Linked DNA regions of Homo sapiens: all the other regions are linked to region 1. The links are contacts of gene promoters, found by promoter capture Hi-C in blood cells and fetal thymus (Javierre and others, 2016). All regions are on one chromosome and are shown on one strand. Each heading gives the region's core, a stretch centred on a gene start or on the middle of the fragment in contact. The rest is flanking DNA. Distances are from core to core; before and after follow the strand shown.

What was found. Contacts are between HindIII fragments. The CHiCAGO score rates a contact against its expected background, and 5 or more counts as called.
Region 2: a fragment that was not itself captured here is called in contact with the fragment with the promoter of CCDC27 in region 1 in 3 of 17 cell types (neutrophils, activated CD4 T cells and monocytes); the score reaches 12.9 in neutrophils.
Region 3: a fragment that was not itself captured here is called in contact with the fragment with the promoter of CCDC27 in region 1 in 1 of 17 cell types (neutrophils); the score reaches 6.2 in neutrophils.
Region 4: a fragment that was not itself captured here is called in contact with the fragment with the promoter of CCDC27 in region 1 in 1 of 17 cell types (neutrophils); the score reaches 5.4 in neutrophils.

What each region holds. Positions count from the first base shown.
Region 1 is chr1:3,750,949-3,753,813 of GRCh38, forward strand. CCDC27 (coiled-coil domain containing 27) reads left to right here and starts at 1,502. Exons shown (of 12, transcript NM_152492.3): 1 at 1,502-1,851. The coding sequence starts at 1,534. The HindIII fragment of the contact is 5,281 bases long and covers 1-2,865 here.
Region 2 is chr1:3,505,685-3,508,549 of GRCh38, forward strand. It overlaps MEGF6 (multiple EGF like domains 6), which reads right to left. Exons shown (of 37, transcript NM_001409.4): 14 at 2,111-2,239; 15 at 424-552. Among named protein-coding and RNA genes, the nearest start is that of ARHGEF16, 52 kb to the left of the region's middle. The HindIII fragment of the contact is 736 bases long and covers 883-1,618 here.
Region 3 is chr1:3,522,782-3,525,646 of GRCh38, forward strand. MEGF6 (multiple EGF like domains 6) reads right to left here. Exons shown (of 37, transcript NM_001409.4): 5 at 1,343-1,465. Among named protein-coding and RNA genes, the nearest start is that of MIR551A, 37 kb to the right of the region's middle. RefSeq lists an enhancer at 378-917. The HindIII fragment of the contact is 4,070 bases long and covers 1-2,865 here.
Region 4 is chr1:3,547,372-3,550,236 of GRCh38, forward strand. The region is part of intron 4 of MEGF6 (multiple EGF like domains 6); the gene reads right to left. LOC105378608 (a long non-coding RNA gene) reads left to right here and starts at 1,109. Exons shown (of 3, transcript XR_946886.3): 1 at 1,109-2,037; 2 at 2,367-2,420. RefSeq lists an enhancer at 26-664. The HindIII fragment of the contact is 6,080 bases long and covers 1-2,865 here.

The DNA of each region.
Region 1 (2,865 bases), core at 252-2,751:
TTAGATAGGAGAAAACCAGCCTGTGGCTGGAGGCGAGATATGCTGGCAGCAATACTGCTCTGTTCCTCTTTGCTACACTGAGATGTTTGTGTAAAGTGAAACATAAATCTAGCCTACGTGCACATCCAGGCACAGTACTTTTCCTTAAACTTATTCATGATACAGATTCCTTTGCTCACGTTTCCCTTCTGACCTTCTCCCCACCATCACCCTGTTGCCCTGCCACACTCCCCTCACCAAGGTAGTAAAAACAGTGATCCATAAATACTGAGGGAACTCAGAGACCAGCGCCGATGCAGGTCCTTGCATGCTGAGTGTGCCGGTCCCCTGGGCTGACTGTTCTTTCTCTATACTTTGTCTCTGCGTCTTGTTTCTTTTCTCAGTCTCTCATCTCCACCTGAAGAGAAATACCCACAGGTGTGGATGGGGCAGGCCCCCTTCAAATTTCCTTCAGTCAGCAAGCAGAGAAGCCTTTCTTCCCATTCAGACCCTAATCAAGGCTTCTGAAGGTAGGGGTTTTGTCTTTCTCTCCTTAAAAGATGTCTTGAGGTAGGCATTTGAAGCCTGGAAAATCATTCCCAGGGAGTCAGGCTACTCTTATCTACTCTTCTAGGTATTTCTTGGCCAAATGTTTCTAATCCCAGAGCCCACCCCCTAAACCTTTTTTTTTTGAGATGGAGTCTCACTCTGTTGCCCAGGCTGGAGTGCTCTGGTGCGATCTCTGCTCACTGCAAGCTCCGCCTCCTGGGTTCACGCCATTCTCCTGCCTCAGCCTCCCAAGTAGCTGGGACTACAGGCGCCCGCCACCACGCCCGGCTCATTTTTTGTACTTTTAGTAGAGACGGGATTTCACTGTGTTAGCCAGGATGGTCTCGATCTCCTGACCTCGTGATCCGCCCACCTCGGCCTCCCAAAGTGCTGGGATTACAGGCATGAGCCACCGCACCCAGCCTAACCTTTTCTAATACAATTACTGTCTTCAAGCCAGCACATGGAGACATTTGAGCTGGACTCCTGTGTCCTTGGGAGCTGACTTTTCTTTTTTTCTTTTCTTTCTTTTTTTTTTTCTTTTTTTCTTTTTTCTTTTGGAGATAGGGTCTCACTCTGTAGTCCAGGCTGGAGTGCAGTGACGTGAACACAGCTCACTGCAACCTCGACCTCCCCAGGCTCAGGTGATCCTCTCATCTCAGCCTCCTGAGGAGCTGGGACTACAGGTGCACGCCACCATGCCTGGCTAATTAAAATGTTTAACTCCTGGGCTCAAGCATGCCTCCCACCTGGGCATCCCAAAGTGCTGGGATTACAGGTGTGAGCCACCACACCCAGCCCAGAAGGCAACCTTCAATATTGAGCTTTGCTCTTCTCAAAAACCTGGTGTCACAGCACTGGCCTCCAGCGCATCCAGCCGCGGGCCCCTTTTGCTCAATAACGGTTTCTATGGAGACATCTGTGATGCCACCACTGCTCCCAGGAGCCCACAGGACCTGGAGCTCTGGAAGCTGATCTCCTCCCACTGCACCAGCCAGCAGGTTCATGTTCGAGGCCATCTTCCCCTCCACACCCCAAGCCAGGCTGAAGAGAGATCCACGGGAAAAGCCGGGCCTGTCCTCATTCAGGTCCACATTCAGGCAACAAAGCTCACTTGGTCTTTGCATCCCACGCCTCATGTTACCTAAGGAGGCCAGCCCATCTCAGAGGCACAGTTCGATGTCCAGCTCGATGGCCAGGGCCCTGGTGCTCCTCCAGAGCATGGCCAGCCGGGACGCCCGGTGCCCAGAATGGAAACCGCACCAAAAGCCACGCACGCTCAGCAAGTCGGTCCAGACCATCAGCCGCTACTACAGGAAGACGGTATGGGGTCCCGGGAGGAGGGCTGCCACGAGCCTTGAGGTGACCTGTTTCTTCTCCTCCCCAAAGGCCCATAGAGCTGTCAGCCCACAAAGCATTCCACAGGCCTTCTGGTGATGGGTTACCAAAGGGGGATTCCAGGCAGGCAACGAATTGAGCGCTAGGGGTGGAAAGAGCCCTGCGGTCCTCTCCCTTTCTGAAGGGCCTGGTGCCTTAGTCCCCACATGCCACCGGCTTCTTCTGGGTTAGCTGCTTTGGGTTGGTCCTCCCCTCTTGCAGACCTTGGCTCCCGGTGTCTCTGGTTGGCCAAGGGGAGAAGATGTACAGTTTGCCCCAAGACTCCCAAGGTGCATCTTGAAAAGGAGAGTGAAGGGGAGAAAATGTGAAAGGGGACCTCAGCCAGTCAGGTACGCTGTGCCACCGTGTACTGGGGGAGCCCGAGATGGTCACCCCGGCTCCTGGCAGCTTCCTGGGTGAATGCATTGCCTGGACCTAGTGGACTATGGTTTCTTTTTTTCTTTTTCTTTTTTTTTTTTTTTTTTTTGAGACGGAGTTTCACTCTTGTCACCCGGGCTGGAGTGCAATGGCGCGATCTTGGCTCACCGCAACCTCCACCTCCTGGGTTCAAGTGATTCTCCAGCCTCAGCCTCCAGAGTAGCTGGGATTACAATGTGCCACCTTGCCCGGCTAATTTTATTTGTTTGTTTGTTTGTATTTTTAATAGAGATGGGGTTTCTCCATGTTGGTCAGGCTGGTCTCAAACTCCCAACCTCATGTGATCTGCCCGCCTTGGCCTCCCAAAGTGCTGGGATTACAGGCATGAGCCACCATGCCCGGCTGGACTATGGTTTCCAAAGTGGGTCTGCGTGGCTCTTGCTGAGCATCCAGTGTGCTGGAGAGGGGACAGAGGGGACACACTGCTGCAGCCTGCACACACGCAGGCCCTTTCAACCCCAGTGGGAGAGTGGCTTAGTGCCTGTGACCAGCAGCATGTGTGGGTGGGGTCGGGGGGCCTGT
Region 2 (2,865 bases), core at 1-2,500, 250 kb before region 1:
CCCCTGCAGCCCACCGCCCCTTCCCTGAGTGTCTGAACCCCAGGGATGGGTGACCCCACCAGGGACTCAGAGCTTGGCCTTGCTGCCAGGAATCTCCAAAAGCCAAGATAGGCCTCATCCCCCGGAGGCTTCTGCAAAAGGCCTGGCCCTGCCCTCATCTGCAGCCCTACCACCCATCAAGGCTGGGAGGCACAAGGTTGGGGACCATCCACCCAGACGCCCTGGATGCCAGCACAGTCACAGTCGAGAGGATGTGGCTTGGAGTCCACAGACTCATGGCGGACCCCAGACCTACATCCCAGTGGGTGACCTGGCTGGGCCCCGATAGCCTCATCCTAACCCAGACTACAGGTAACAGGACATGGACCATCCCTTCCACCCGCTGCCACCACCATGGACACTGGAAGGGGCAGTGAGACTCACTGAGGTGGCAGAAGCGGCCGTAGAGCCCTGGGTCGCAGAGGCAGGCCCCGTAGAGGCGGTGGCACCGGCCCCGGTTGGCACAGTTGCATTTCTTGCGACAGTGCTTGCCATAGTAGCCCTTGGGGCAGCCTGGGGGCAGCGGGGCTCCATGTGAACCTTGGTGGCAGCCAGCCTACCACATGTGGTCCCCCCATGTGGTAGGATGCGCGGGGGCCCAGGGCCCAGCACAGGAGCTGGGAGCAGCCCCCGCCAGGGCACTAGGTGAGCCTTCCGGATGTGGCCGTCTGCCCTGGCTGGTCTGTCCCCTACATCCCCTGCCCCCAGGGTTTGTGGCAAGGGCGGGTGGAAGAGCACATTCCTCGGCCCACACTGGAGAGATGCACAAAGCTCACGCCCCACTCTCCCCAAAGTCTGGCCCCCATCAGGAGCCGCCTGACTTCTGTCCCCTGGTGGTCACTAAGCTTGATCTCAGAGCCTCAAAGCGGGAAGGACACGTGGCCCCAGTAGACAAGGTCCCAGGCCCAAGCCGCAGGTGGCCCCAGAGCTAGAAAGGTCCTCGCCTTTCTTCCCCAAACAATTCTCTCTGGCTGGGTCCTGCCCCACGTCCTTCCTCCTACTGAAGGCGGTAGTCAGCTGAAGGTACCCCCACAACTACATACACGTCCTAGTCCCCAGGACCTGGAGACTAGGCACAGTTGCATTTCTTGCAACAGTGCTTGCCATAGTAGCCCTACATTATCCAGGCTGGCCCTGAATCCAAAGACAAACATCCTCATCTGAGAGGCAGGCGGAAGCCGAGACAGAAAGAGGAGGCCTGGAGAAGGGGAGGTGACCCCTCAACGCTGCAGGCAGCCTGGAGGGTACAGCACGATCCCAGGGGTGCAGCACCCAGGAATGAATACGGGGGTTCCCCAGCACCCTGTAGAATAGAAAGGGCAGACAAAGTGGGGAAGGGAGGCACACTGACAGGGAAGAGGTAGGAAGCCCTGTGTGGCTGCCTGGGGTCCCCACCACCACCAGGCAACCAGCCCTGCAGAGCCCAGCACATACGGCCAGGAAAGCTCACGGGGCCACCTGGGGGACAGGTTCTAGGGTTGGCTGTCTTCCTCTCACAAAGGCAGAAAGTTTATGATACGTTAGCTGCACTCTCCATCGAAAGAGGCAGAAATGATGAAGTCTGAAGACTTAAAGATGAAGCTTTAGCCACCTGGGAAACATTTTCTGGACTAATTCCTCCAGAAAGGCTGAAACTTCAGAGTTAATAAGGGAGCCAACATCATCCCTTGCAGCCACTGGCCCCCAAGTAATCCCTTCTGCAAACCTCACCCAGCCATCACCAGCTCTACTTGAATGCTTCCAGGAACAGGGACCTCACTGCCTCTCAAGGGAACCCATTCCAAAAGTGCTGCTCTGTAGTCTTATCGTCTGCTACAGTTAGGCCCTGGGAAAATTAGCAACAGTGAAAAAGCAATACCCCTCTCATTCAAGGGCCTCATTCTCTCTCAAGCACAGCCTAAAGCTCTGGAGACAGGGAGGCAGGAAGGAAAGGGAGTCTAGGAAAAGTTTGGTAGCAGTTTCCCTGCTCCAGTGGGAGGAAGGAGACAAGGAGGACGTGGAGGGGTGGTGTCTCCCACTTCCCTTACAGCCCAGGGGTAATTCCAGAAGCACCAGAAGAGGCTGCACGCACCATCCTCACAGTTAGTTCCACTGACACCCGGGGGGCAGCGGCAGGCCCCCGTGACAGAGTCGCAGGTCCCACCATTCTGACAGCTGCAGGAGAAGCTGCAGTTCTTCCCAAAGGTGTCCGGAGGACAAGCTACAAAGAATGACAGGGAAGCGTCAGGGTCACCAGCCAGCACGACACTCTGAGACCCCTTCCTAGGGTTGGAGGCTTGGGTTTAGAAGCAGTTGCCTAGAGATAAAATGATGGCACTTGTACCACATCACCCCTGCCCATGCTCATGGCAGACATCACTAATTGATCACTGACTCCTCTCTCTGAACACCAGCAGAGAGAGGAGTCTCCTCCTTCTGAACCAGCTCTTTCAAACAGGCAGAGCCTCACTGACAGTTATGACGGGTCCCTGGCCATCTGAGCTAGAGGAACCCCACCTGCCGGCTGCCCTTCAGCAGACACCCCTCACTGTCTTAGTTATTTGCTGGCTTGCTTGTTGCTGGACCGTGAAGACTGATATTTAGGAAGGACAAACACTTTAACTTGCTTGTTCCCAGGGAATCCTTACTGCCTGGAACAGTGCGTGGCATAGAGTGGACAGTCAGGGGATGTTTATCAAAGGAATTAACAAATGGATGAATGAATGGCTCTGCACAGAGCCCCCTGCCCAGGGCCAGCAGGCAGGAGTAAAACTGAATGGGCTCAAAGGGCTGTCCCCAGGTCTTGGGGCTCAGAGGCCCCTTCCCAGCCCCCAGCCCCTGCCCAGC
Region 3 (2,865 bases), core at 128-2,627, 230 kb before region 1:
CCTGGGCTGCCCTTCTACAAGGAATACCCTGCCTGAGAGGAGGGTCGAGAAAAGGACGTGCCCCCCAAGAGCTGCCTCTTCCAGGGGGCCTGAGGGGACCAGGGGGTGCAAGGCTAAAGTGCCCCAGGCTCCCAGAAGCCCCGCAGGGCAGCGGGCTGGGGCCGCACCCCCGTCTCCGTTGTCCGGAAGCACATCACAACATTCCTGCATCTGTTTCTACTTTCAGACCCAGGGAAACTTTACAGAGCGGCTGCCTGGATCCCCATGGTGGCCGGGACATGTGAGTGTGTGCCGGGGGGGGGGCCCCAGGGCTGGCGAGCTGCTCTGCCACATCACAGGCAGGACCGGGAGGGAGGCTGCTCAGAGCCGGCTTGGGCCCTGCTCCGGGCCTCCAAGGCAGGAAGAAGGGGCGTCCTGACGCCCATCACCCAGAGAATGACCCCCCATGCCTCCCAGACAGAGACCAGCAAGAGGGTCAGTCCCGTCCTTGCTTGGGGCGCCTGTGCCCAGAGCCAGCCAGGAGCAGGGGTGCCGAAGGGTGAGGGTGGCTGACTGGCTACTTACTCTTCACCCCAGATTCCTGGGCTCCAGCCCCCTGCTCAGCCCTGTGCCGGTTCCTAGAGGCCTGGCACCTCCCCTGCTTCCCTCTAACCCTCCCTCCCTGCGGCCACAGTCCGTGTCCGCGACACCTCCTCCAGCCCATTCCAATAGCCAAGAGACCCCGCAGAGGAAGCTGAGGGACAGGGTCCCGCTTCTTCGTCACCCCTACCCTACCTGCCACAGCCCACACCCTCCAGGCTCCCCAAGCTGGGCAGGGATCACCTGGGCCCACAAAGCCTGGCTCTGCGGGCGAAGGGTGTCCTCACGCAGCCCCTGCCCTGACCAGGCCTCCTCGGCCAGCGTCCCCCACCACGTAGCACGTGACCCAGGTCTCCCTCAAATCAAATGTAGGGGACATCACAACCAGGCCAGGTCCCTGCTGATAACCACGGCAGCTTCTGTTGTAGAGAATCTTTAATAGGATCTCCACCCACGGGCTCACTCCCCTGTCCACTGGGAGGGGCCTCAGCATCACAGCGGGGCTTAGTGTGGCTGCAGAGGGTCTGCAGCCAGGGTCCTGGGGACCTGGCAACTTGGCATTCAGTCCTTTTACCGGCCTGAGCCTGGGGCAAGGTGCGGGCAGGATTCCATAGAGCCATGCTCCGCAGGAAGGAGCCACTGCCAGAGCGGCCTCTGCCTCTCCATGTCCACAGCCACCCTCTCAGGCCAGGCCTGGGCACACCCCAGAGGGTAGGGATGGCTGAAGCCAGGAGCCCAGGCAGGGTCTCCAGGCGACACTCACCCAGGCAGGTCCTGCTGTCAGTGTGGAGCCGGAAGCCGGGCTTGCACTCACAGAGGTAGGAGCCTGGGGTGTTCACGCACCGGTGCTGGCAGCCACCGTTGTGGGTTCGGCATTCGTCCACATCTGAGCAGGAATGGGGAAGGATCAGCAGCTGGGCACCTGTGCCCTCCTGCTTTGCCAACACAGCCCCCCAGGTGCCGGGGGCCCAGACCCAGGTCCCTCCCGTGCCTCGAGGGCACCACCCATGAGCCCCTCACCCACATCTGCCGGAGACGCAGCAGAAGAGACAGGGTCTGTGCTTCCACCTTGGACACCTGCTCGAGAAGGAAGAGCCACCGCCTCGAGGGCCGGCCAGAAGGTGGGGAGTAGCAGAGGGCTCCAAGGACAGGCTGGGCCTCTAGCGCCTTTCAAGACTGAACCGGGAGCGCACGCGGTTTTCTTAAGTCCAAATCTACAAAGTGCTTCCTGGGCGGTGTCAACCGCTCCACCAGGACCCACAAGCCCAAAAAGAGAAACTGACAGCTTTTGAGACGGCCATGCCCAGGCTGTGGGGGGAAGCCTGAGAAAGGGGAGGGCGTGCTGGCTTCAAGAGTGTCCCCGCAGTTCATGGCCATCTGGAGCCTTCCAGTGAGGCCTTGTCTGGAAACAGGGTCTTGGCAGCTGTCCTAAGTTCAGGCTCGAGATGAGATTGTTCCGGATGAGGGTGAGCCCTAAATCCAATGCGCCTATCCCAACAAGAGACACACAGAGAGGGCCATGTGGAGACCAGGCAGATTGTGGTGACGAGGCTACGGGCTAAGGACGGCCAGAAGGAAGAGGCCAGGAAGGTCCTCTCTATGGGTTCATAGGGAGCGTGGCCCCGCGGACACCTTGGGTTCAGAATCCTGGCCTCCAGATGGCGACAGAAGAAACTTCTATAGTTTGTAGCCACCCCGTTTGCGGTGTTTGTTCCAGCAGCCCTGGGAAACCAATGCAGCTGGGGTCAGCCTGGGCCCCCCACACCCACAGGCTCCCCGTGCAAGGACCCAGAAGGCCACCATATCCCAGGACAGAAGCCTTCGCTGTGCCGGCACCCTCCCCCATGAAGTGCCACCCGCCATCCCAGAGCAGCCCAGACCCCGTCAGACCCTCCCTGCCCAAGGGCCAGCTTGGTTTAGAACCACGTGTCCTCAGGTTCCAGACTTAGCTGATGCCCCACTCAAAGGCGGTAGAGGGGAGTAGGAGAGCAGGAAGGGGTCGAGAGCAGCCTGGTCCTGAGGCCTCTCCCCGCATCTGCGCTGCCTGGACTTCCACAGCCTGGGGACCAGCCAAGGGGGCAGAGCAGCAGTCCAAGGCCACAGACACCTCGCAGGACCCTTGTCCCTCCCACTGCTTACCAAGCCCCCTGAACAAGCGTGGCTGAAGAGAGCAGGGAGGGATCCAAGGGCAGGTCCACTTTTGAGAGGACGCCTCCCATCACAGGACACCTGGGCCTACCTGCTCCTGTCCCCAGCCCCGTGGCACAGGCCACAGGGAAAGTGCTG
Region 4 (2,865 bases), core at 224-2,723, 200 kb before region 1:
TGGCTCTCAGGAGCAACATTTGGGTATAGCTTGGCAGAGGAGGTGGCCCTGCTCCCGTAAAGCAGCCACACCCTTTTTGTGAGTCCCCAGAGATCGGCTGCCGTGTGTGTTCCGGTCAAGCGGTCTGCCACAGCTGTGGGTTTTCAGGAAAAACCCGGCTTCCCTTGGCTCTGAGGCCAGGAGGAGTTTCACTGTCACCTGCACAGCCACTCCCCCTCCCGCCTTCGGACAGCCCCAGGCCCCATCCTCCCTTCCTGGCGCGTCTCTGGGGATCACGTGGCATCTGAGTTGGGCCTGGAGAGCAGGTTAGGAGCCCTGAACACCACATCAAGTTGCTGAGCCCAGCCTGCCAGGACCCAGAGCCCATGCCCTAGCCCGCCCTCCGTCTTTGCGGGTGCGGGAATGTGGCAGTTCTCCCGGGGTGCGCCTCTGCCTGGTTCAGGCAGCAGGACTTCCCCCGGGACTTGGTCCTGGGCAGAGGCAGCGTCACTGCCTCCCCACACAAGTGACTGGGCTGGTAGGAGCATCGAGGGAAGAAGGGAATCAAGTGACCTGCCTTGAGAAGGTGTGGGACCCAACTTGAGGTGACGCAGGGACCAGGCGCCTCTGCCCACCCACCCCTGCTGAACTGCACCATCCAAACTTCCAGGAATGTTCAGCCCCCTGTGCCCCCGCCTCTAGAGGCCAAAGACCAGGCCCTCCCCAGCTGCATGGGGATCGGAACCTGGAGGCAGGCTCAGAGCCAGTGGAGCCCCCAGCATGCTGAGGACGCAGATGGCCAGACGCCAGCCCAGCCCACAGGGTGCTGTTCCCAGAAGATGAGGCCGACCTTTCCCACCAGCACCCCAGACAGACGGAACACAGCGCGGGCCTTTCCGGACCTGAGCTGGCCCAAAGCTCCCCAGTGCCGGGGGCATTTCTCTCTGCACCTCCTCAGGACGGGCCCTGGAAGAGCCCCGGGCGGGGCCAAAGGCCTCGGGGCGGCCACAGTCCCATGAGAACGGGCCAAGCGGAATGCAGGCCAGCCGTCTCCGGACTGTTGGAATGCAGCTGTCAGCACAGCCCTGCGGAGGTCCATGGTGGGAATTTTTTGGGAATTCCTAGAGAGTTACACAGGGCGAGACGGAGGCTGGCCAAGGCCAGGGGTCAGAGCCAAGGTGCCCAGGGTCCCCTGTCTGCCTGGCCCCGACAGACTGCCCTGGCAGGCAAGCAGCAGCCCCTCCTCTGGTGTGGGGCAGGCACCCAAGCTCTGGGACCTGTCCTGACACTGGGGCCTTGAGGCCAGGTGGCTGGGAGGGCGGTGTCCAGGCAGGTGGGGCTGGACGCCAGATGAGCTTCCACACAGCTGCTGGCACAGCTGGGTCCCCAGCTTCCCAGGCCTGGAACACAGCTGGCCATGTGAGCACAGGTCCCCAGCACCGGGGCAGCCTCACAGCCACCCACCCCGACCCTGCTAGGCTCCACGGGGAAAGGAGCCCACTGCAGCTGGGGGCCTTCAGGGACCCCCCCACACCCACAGGAAAAGCCCCTTAGCCTGGCCTGGCACAGGGGCTGCAGGGTCTGGCACTCAGGACAGCCACCGCTGCCTGGTCACCCTCACTGAGGCTGCAATCGCCCCTTGTTCCCCCAAAGCCCCCAACCCCAGCATCTCCATGCTGGCTGGGACCCCGCCTTGGGTACCTGCGGGCGCCGCCTCCACCCCAGGCCGGGCTGAGCTCTAACATCCCCGTGGCTCCGCGCTGGGTGATCTGTCCCCAGCCAGACCATGCAAGCTCTGGTGGGGACTGGCCCCCCTAGTCTCGGGGCCCCCGTGCTCAGCCCAGAACAAGCCCACAAGGGCCGCAGGAGACCCTTGGTGAATGCTCAAGAAGCTGCAGGTGGACCGGCCACCAGGAGAAAAGCCAGAGCCCGACAAGGCAGCTGGGGCTCCCCCAACCCCTCAGGCTTGGGCTGGAACTCTGGGCACCACGCAGACTGATGCCCCATGGCCACAGGCAGACCAGGGCCCAGGACGGAGAAGTTCAGCTCCAGAAGCAGGTGACGGCTCCTCCCCAAAGCCAGCAGAAGCCTCTCTTTCCTCCAAAACCCAGGACCGGGGTGTTCAGGGCTCCAGTCTAGGCGAGAAGATGGGGGGCTGCCTGGGGGCTTCTGGGGGCACATGGTCATGCTCGGGTCTGGGCTGGCTGGCGGCAGGCACCCCGTTGGTTGACTGCATGCAGAAGGGTCCATCAATTCACCGAAGACACTGGCATGGGATATCCAGGGCGACTTGGCCCCGCTGCTCCCCACAGCTCACCCCGCTCTCTGGCCCCACAAGGGCTCCAGCTCGGGCTATGGGCGTCACTTATGGCCTGGAATTTACCTAGGCAACACTGCAGCCCAGGGAACCACCCGGAGGCTGACCAGCCTTCCCGTACAAGGTGAGTCTTGAGCAGGGGCCTCTCAAAGCCCAGCTACGTGGGCACCAGACAGGCCCCTTGCTCCAGCTTCTCCCAGGGATGATCCAAGCACAGGCACGGGTGGGCGGTCGAAGGTCAGAACCAGGCTAGGCTCTGAGTCTTCACCTGGAGACTCACAAAGGCTGCCCTCACCACTTCTCGCCAGCCCCAACCCAGGGGTCCCCGCTCTCCCCAGAGCTGAAGTGATCGTGGATGCCACCTGGTGAGTCCAGCCTGAAGGGTGGTGAGGGGAAGGCTCCATGCCCCCAGCCCTCCCCATCCCGGGAATTTTCTATCAGCAGAAAGTAACGGCTCCCGACACAAGACATACCCAGAGGCGCCACAGACCCAGCAGTCCCACCCCTAAGCACCTGCCCAAGATAAATAGAAACAGGGACTCAAACCACGGTGTGTGCACACGCTCACA